Linked DNA regions of Homo sapiens: region 1 is linked to region 2. The links are contacts of gene promoters, found by promoter capture Hi-C in blood cells and fetal thymus (Javierre and others, 2016). All regions are on one chromosome and are shown on one strand. The core of a region is centred on a gene start or on the middle of the fragment in contact, and the rest is flanking DNA. Distances in the headings are between cores, read along the strand shown.

Evidence for each region. Contacts are between HindIII fragments. The CHiCAGO score rates a contact against its expected background, and 5 or more counts as called.
Region 1: a fragment that was not itself captured here is called in contact with the fragment with the promoter of PDPN in region 2 in 1 of 17 cell types (total B cells); the score reaches 5.0 in total B cells.

The regions. Positions count from the first base shown.
Region 1 is chr1:13,805,071-13,809,249 of GRCh38, reverse strand. The region is part of intron 8 of PRDM2 (PR/SET domain 2); the gene reads right to left. Among named protein-coding and RNA genes, the nearest start is that of PRDM2, 110 kb to the right of the region's middle. The HindIII fragment of the contact is 7,820 bases long and covers 1-4,179 here.
Region 2 is chr1:13,581,782-13,585,574 of GRCh38, reverse strand. It overlaps PDPN (podoplanin), which reads right to left and starts at 1,743. Exons shown (of 6, transcript NM_006474.5): 1 at 1,475-1,743. The coding sequence starts at 1,541. RefSeq lists an enhancer at 1,302-1,840. The HindIII fragment of the contact is 6,524 bases long and covers 1-3,793 here.

The sequences.
Region 1 (4,179 bases), core at 1,436-3,935, 220 kb before region 2:
AAAGGCAAAACGGACCACGACACGCCCCTGCTGCAACCTGTCAAAACCCCATGGCTCCCAGGACGCAGTCCAAGTTCCTTGATACATCAAGTCCAGCCTGCACTGCCCTCCCAGCCCATCTCTCCCCTTCTGTTCTTGTTTACTCCAGCTAATCTGGGTAGACCCCATTTCCCAGTGGCCTGTAGCCTCGGCTCCTCACTAGATTCACCCAGAGAGGCCTGGGCTGCATGCCAGGACATGACATCAGGATCTCTGGGGCAGGATTGGGCAATGGTATTTTTAAGCTCTTCAGTGATTCCAACATGCAGCTGGGTTGAGAACCACTGCTCTGGAGATGCTTCTGTGGTCGCCCTCTTGAGGCAACATGGCCCTGGTCAGGTTCCCACACCGGCCCCCACACGGGCAGTTTCTCATGCATCTGCGACTGTCTGATAAAGGCAGGTCTCCCCAGGGGGCCGTAAGGTCTCTGATGGCAGAGCGTGGTTGAGTTTTGTTCATCATTGTATTCTTAGTACCTAACTGTGCGTGAGTGAATAATAGACCCTCAACATGTAAGGAAGGAAGAAATGAGCAATTCAAGACTCTGTGATATTCCCACTGCACAGCTGTTCTCAGACACCAAGAAATCTGTTCAGTGCAGGGGAGGGAAAATGGACTTACTATGCTCCCCAAGATGCTCCTCCATAAAATCCCGGCAAAATGAATGAGATACGTAGTCCTCAATCCTAGACATCAAGAAAGGGTTGAACAAGTTCAGCATCAACTGTTTTTTTTTTTTTTTTTTTTGAGACAGAGTCTCACTCTGTCGCCCAGGCTGGAGTGCAGTGGTGCGATCTCCACTCACTGCAAGCTCCACCTCCCGTGTTCACGCCATTCTCCTGCCTCAGCCCGCCACCACGCCCGGCTAATTTTTTGTATTTTTAGTAGAGATGGGGTTTCACCATGTTAGCCAGGATGGTCTCGATCTCCTGACCTCGTGATCCGCCCGCCTCGGCCTCCCAAAGTGTGGGGATTACAGGCGTGAGCCACCGCGCCCGGCCCAGCATCAACTGTTTTTAGAAAGCAGGGGAGTGTAGCATTACCTTGGTAAGATTTTCATACACAGTGGTTGAACATTTTAAACATAGTAGCAGGGTTGGGAGGAACCTGCTGTGTGCCCCACACAGGCTTTGCCCAGAAGTGTCTGGCCTCTGGCAAAGTGTGCTCTACTGCCTACTCTAGGAGGGAAATTTCTGGACATTTTACTTAGAACAAAAACTAATGGACTTTGAAAGCACAGGGGGATGTCATACACCATCCAATCTGTATGGACGGGGAAGGATTGGGCAGAGGGCAGACCTCAAACACCTGGTCCACTCCCGGCTCATAGGAAGGCTCAGAAATGGTGCCTCAGAGCATCGTCTCCTGGGGATCCTAATTTCTTACTTGTCAGAATTCCTTGCTAGTCTGAAGACAATGCAAGGGCATTATCTATACAATAGAACGTCTAATAGAACATGTCTAGAAATAGAACATCTGCTCTGTTCCTGGCCTCAAGGATGCATTCATTCTTTCATTCAGTCATTCAGATTTCCAGTGGCCCATTCTTGCCTCAGGGACTCGGCACAGGCTGTTCCTGGAACACTCTTCCCCCAGGTGGTCTTGTGGCTCACTCCCAGGCCCCCTTTCAAGTTTCTGTTCAAATGTCTCATTCCCAGTGAGCCTCGCTTAACCACTTTATTTGAAATCACAAATCCCCCTGATACTCCCCATCTCGACTCCCTTTTACTTTCTGAGTTGTGCTTATCCCCATCAACAGAGCTGCGTTTACTGGTTATTGTTTACTGTCTGTCTAGCAGGCTCCATGAGGGGGCGCATTGGAGGCTGGTTTGTCACGGAGGCACCTCCAGCACCCCAGCCGCTGGCTGGCATACAGTAGCAGTCATCTACTATTTGTCAGGTGAACGGTGTGTCTATTCTGTGCCAGGTGCTTTGCCAACAGGAGTTTTAGTGAATAAAACAAGTCAAGTTCTCTACATATAGCATAGTTTTACATGTCACTTAGTGTAGCCTAGAGAGGAAAGATACTCATTTCAGAAGGAGTTTGATGCCCGTACGAGGCCAAGACTCAGGCCTCCTGGCTCCCAAATGACCACATTCTTATTCAGCCCCCAGTGGTTTTGGATAAGGGAGAAATCCAGACACACTGAAATATACAAGAGAAAATGAAACTGAAGAAACAGGAGTGAAGGTCAGAGTGGAGGAGAAGACAGGGAAAGGTGACATGGGAAACGGCAGTGTGTGGGCTACGACCTGGGGTGGGGGGATCAATCGGTCCGGATACTACGCCTTGTGCGTTCCAGGAAGTGGGGACAGGAAGTGCAAAGGCCCTGAGGTGAGACCCACCAGGAATGTCTGAGGTGATGTGGGCAGAGGGGAGGGTCTCATAGGCCTTCAAGTGAGGTGTCAGTCAGTTGTCCTTCTGGGCAGAGGAATATCATGACCCAAAGTGGCTGCTGTGCTGGGCACAGACCGTGGGTTGACAGGGAAGGAACTGGGGACACCAGCAAGGAGGTGACTGCCACCATCCAGGGAGATGATGGTGGCCTGGACCTCAGGTCAGCTGAGGAGGCTGAGCTGAGAGAAGCTGTGGATTCCGGGTGAGTTTGGGGATCTGCTGATGAGCTGGATGTGGGGATGGAGGAAGAGGTTGGAGTCTAGCTGGTAGCTGGACTCCAAGCAGGACCGTTTCCATTCATCCCACATAGGGAGGACAGCAGGAGAGGGAGGCTTCATGGAGAGACAGTTTCATTTTGGAAAGATTAAATTTGAATCTAGACACCCAAGGGAGATGTCAGGTGGGCGGCTGAATGGAGATTCTGATGAGGGTGGAAACCCGGGATTGGTCAGCATCCAGGTGGTATTTAACGCATGTGACTGGATGAGATCACCAAGGGGGAGCGGAGACGGAGCGAGGGGACAGAGCCCAGGGATGGAGGCGGGATGCGGGGGACAGAGCCCAGGGATGGAGGCGGGATGCGGGGGAGCAGCTGGTAATGTGCAGAGACTGGGAGAGGGCGGTGTCCAGGTGGAGAGTATTTCAAGGAAGAGAAGGATTAACAGCGTCCACTGCCGCAGATGGGCCAAGGGAGATGGGACTGGAAACCAACCACTGCATTGAGCATCCTGGGGGCTGCTGATAACCTTGGTTTGATGGCTCCTCAAGAAGAGCCAAAACCCTGAAAGTGAGTTCAAGAGAGAAGGGGAGAAGAGACACTGGAGGCAGGAACCCAGAGGACGCTTCAAGAAGGGTGGAGGGAAAGGAGTTTGGGAGGGAAGGAGCTGCCGGCTTTCAGAGGACATGGGCTCTCCAGGGCTCCAGGGTCCCCACGTGGCCACGGTGCTCTTCCAAGCTCCCTGCCAGACCGCCATGGGCATCCTGGGCTGGGATCTCTGCCTGCCCTGGTCCCTCCTTGCACCTTTTTCTCACAGTCTTCAGGAGGGATCTCCTGGGACAGCCATACAGAAAGCTGGTTAGGCCACATCGCTGGCCGCAGAAGTCTTACACAACTCTCTAAATTCTCAGAGTGCAATTCATTTGAAGTCAGTGTCTGATATTCTGCACTTTTGCTGAAGGTAGGGGAAAGGCAGAGGGTGGGGAGATGGTGCAAAGGTAAGACAAGCCTGTGATGATGCTGATATTCCCTGGGGGCTGGGTGAGGGCCCACAGGTGGGAGCTGTGGGAGCCATCGGCCCTCAGCCACCTCCAGGAACAGTCGACATCCACTGCAGGACCCACCTTCCCCAAGTGGGAAGGCCCACGTGCTTCAGGAAGCCCCTGCCCATTCAAATGAAGCCCCCAGCCTGGGGGAAGGGCTGAGAAGACAGAGAAGAAAGAAGCAGGGCAGGAACCCAAAGGAGGATGGGGTGGGGATTCCAGAGCCCAGAGCTGGAATCCTAGCTCCATTACGGACTTGCTGTGTAGCCGCTGGAAAATGCCTCTACCTCGCTGAGCCATAGAAGTCTTGCCTGTAAAATGAGGATGTCAGGCAAGGGGGAAAAAAACATCATCGCATCATCCACTGAGCACTTTCTATACACCAGGAGCTACTTTGGGTAGTTTTTGGGAGCTCCTCAAATTCCCAGCAGTCCTGTAAGGCTGGGCCTGTGATGGTCCTGGTTTTACAGAGGAGGGTTCTG
Region 2 (3,793 bases), core at 494-2,993:
TGTTACCCAGCAGCTTTTTCTTTAGCAGGGCTGAGATGCTGAAGTGAGGGCGCTCCCTTGCTTTGCCCTGGTGAGCACAAAACGGTGTCATTTGCACATTGTCTCGCCAAAAAGGAAATGTAACTGAAAATACAGAACTGTATATATTCCAGTGGAAAGAGAAGTTCCAAAGATAGGACTGCTACGAATAACCCACGGCCCCTATAAAAAGAGTTGCTCAGTCCCTTTGAAGCAGACAGCACAGCATAGAGCAGAACTCTGTCATTTCCCTGAGATTGGGTATTTTTGTCTGTGTGGACCATTGTAGGAGGCCAGGTTAGGCGCACCCCTCCTGCAAACCGCTCCCTCTCCAAGAAGTATTCCTCAGGGCCTAGGCCTACCTTGATCCTCAATTTTTGGAAAATGTTTACTTTTCACAGCATAACTCAGCAACCTCCAGCCCCAAAGATCACGAGTTAGGTTACAATTCCTTCAACCAACATTTAGTGAGCAACTACTATGTGCCAGGCATTGTTTTGGCCGTGGGGAATCATGGCTGGATGTAGCTGCGTCCTGCAGAACATATGTTCTATTGAGGAAATATAAAAATAAAAACCCAAGAAAAGAAAACAAAATGTTGACAGATGTCAATGGAGACCACCAACACAGCAACCCAGCGGGAAGAGGTAAGGCTCCAGGAGAGGACAAAGGGTAATGGAAGCTGTGGACGCCCCCACCCCAACATGGGATACAAAATATTTAAAGCCTAAGGAGTCACCAACAGACATTCAGCCACTGATGTTGTTGCCCAAGATGAACACGTGGCTCAAACCCACTTAAACCTCAATGTTCGTAACGCGTAACAATCCTCATGCACTCACACTCCTCGGAAGCCTCCACTTGGATCCTTTCCACACACACTATCCTCTCTAAAGAGGATAAAGGAGGCCTCTTCCAGTCCAGTGACGGGGTGCTGAGTGTGTCCAACAGGCAGGGCGCCAGACTAGGTAGTCCCAAGGGGGACCAGGGCCACCGCAGGGCGGGGAACCCTCCCCTTGGCCCAAGCCCTCCTGAACGTCCCTCCTGATTCTACGAGGCCAGCTTCTCCCGAGGCGTGCGTATTCCTCCAACACACCGCTCTATGGGAAGGAAACCCCAGCCACTGCTGCCAGCAAGCGGGGCTGCCTACTGTGAACCTTCCACCCGATCTCTCTGGTGCTGCCGACTCGGAGGGAGGCCCCCTGTGCTGCCCACCTCGCAGCCTGTGGATTCCGGGGCTCCTCCCGGCACACCCGCGCAGCTGCGTCTTTGGGACCTGGCACCGACTAAGCCGCTGCCTCTCCTCCTCCGGCGCTCAGCCGCCTGACACGCACACACCCTCAGCTCCCCCGCGCTCCCCTGGACAACCTCGAATACCAGGCCCGGGCATTCCAGCAAGTCTCTGCTCGCTCGTCCCCATCAGCGACGGCAGGAAGCCACTTGCGCTGGGTCTTACCTCCTTCTGCCAGGACCCAGAGCGACGCGCTTCCCAAAACGAAGAGCAGAGCTGACACCTTCCACATCGTTCCCGTTGAGTTGTTGCTCTCCTGGGGGCCGAGCAGCAAGATTCTGAGCTGGGGGAAAATTAAAAAGCACCGCGGCCACAGGCCCAGCCTGGAGGAGCGCGACGGTGGGGGGGCCGGAGGGGTGGGAGCAGGAGCCCCGGAGAGGGAGGGTGCCCGAGCTTCCCAGACCCTAGGCAGCCGGACAGCAAACTTTGCAGTTGAGAACTTTCCGAGCGGAGTCAGCATTTATCTCTCCCGAGGAGGCGGGGGAGCGGGGTCGGCCGCAAGGTGGTCTCCGTCCGGGCGCGCTAGGCCCGCCCTCGGGCTCTGTTTGGCCGGCGCCAAAACGATGATCTCAGGCCAGGTTTAAAGTTACAGGGCCGCAGCTGCGGGGGCCGCCAGGACTGCGGGCCCTGGCAAAATGGGCTTTTATTCTGCTCAACAACAGGAGGGAAAGGGACCACATGCAACAAACGGGGTTTTAAAAATTATATATAAATTTTAAAAAACCTATATTTATTATTATTATTTTTTTAAGAGTAAGGCACAAGTCTATGTTTTTCTTGTTATGGGCAGAAGTGAGAAGTAAACTGTTTCTTGAGTGGCCAGTAGTTTTAGAACCAAGCATGGGGTTTTTCCTGTAAATATTGAATTTGATGGCTTAAAAACAAAAAAAGTTGGCCGTCATCTGGGTGGGCCAGAGGCGGCCCGCGCTGGTCAATTGCGCCCTTGTCCCGGGGACCGGAGCGGGCGGGCTCCGGGGGGCTGCCCCAGAGCTGGCTGGTGGGGGAGTTTGGCAGACCGGGTGGCTTTGGCAGTTTTGAAAAAGAGGCTGAACTCCATCCGCCTCTGCCGACCCGGGGATCCAGCGCTGCGATGCTGTGGCCCACCGACGTGCGCAGTTGGATTAGGCCGGGCCAAGCGGTGACCCGTCTGGTCGCCAAACCTGTGTCCCCTTCCAGGCCTGGTTCACCCTCTTTATTCCTGAGTTTGCTCCCATAATCCTCACTTTACTGGTTTAAGCGATCTTGCCTTGATCTCAGGTACCAGATATCAGCAACCAGAGAACTTACGTCTTTTACTTTAATTCCTTCTGAATTGCTGGAATTTAAAAAAATAAGAACAGGAGTTTGGGAAGTGGTCTCTGCTCCACTCCCAGATGCCACAAATTCCATTCAACAAAAGAACCTGAAGACTAACGCTGTCTCAAAGCTCCACATTGCGTGAAAATTGTTTTCAGATGCTTATCTTTGACCCCTCCCCATTATAAATTTACTTTCTAAGAATCACAGGAGAGATTGTTTTAAATAAATGCCCAGTTTCCTGGGTTCCACCCCAAACTCATTAATCAGACCTTTTCGGAATTCCTATTTTAAACCAGTGTCGCTGGAGAACTTGTCCCCATGAACATTTGGCAAACCTTGCCCTTCATCATAGCTTCTCAGCCAGATCTACCTGGGGCACTGGTTATGCAGGTGCAATTCTGTTGTGGGATAGGGAGAGATTCTGCATTTCTAAAGATCTCCCAGGTAACGTCTTGTCCTGGGGCTACAAACAGGAGCTGAGCACCTGAACCTAGAAGATGAGGGGTAGCGGCAACACCCCTAGAGCCAAGGAGTTGGAAATGTAAAGAGAAAACTCGTGATACAGATACTCTTTCTTGAACTGACTTCCCCATCTTGGAGATGCATTTTATGACTCTAGTGTCAATAATGTCTGTTGACAGGAGGAATAGTGCATTGTCTGTTGAGCCTGTTAGATGGAGAATAGATGCACATCTATTCTGCTTATGTGTAACTCCAAGGTCACACACAGAAAGAAAGATGGCCCGCTTTATTCAAAAAGATTGAAACACAGTGAAGCCTAGGTGGGGGAGATTGGGTTACATGCAACTAATTTAGAGGGATGCTGAGGCTAGGTCATGATTCAAGGACACCTGCCTTCTATCCCACACCCCCGGATGTGTCTAGAATCTAGAAGGTTGGTCACATGACCTTTTGATCAGGATGGAGGAGTGGGAGGTAATAAGGAATTGCATTCAGCTGGGGGTCCTGGGGTGGGGAGAGGGGCCAGGATGAAGGAGTTAGTGGATCGGCTCTGGGTGCTGTTGGTCTGAAAACCTAGAGAGAAAAGCTGGGTCTTGGGAGGGGGAACCTGAAGACCAGAGGGAAGAAAGAACTCACCCTCCTGGACCAGATAGAGCCAGCAGCTCATGAGAGAAGGAATATGGGCCTTGGGCAGCGAGACTCGGTTAGCTAAAGGAGCTGAAG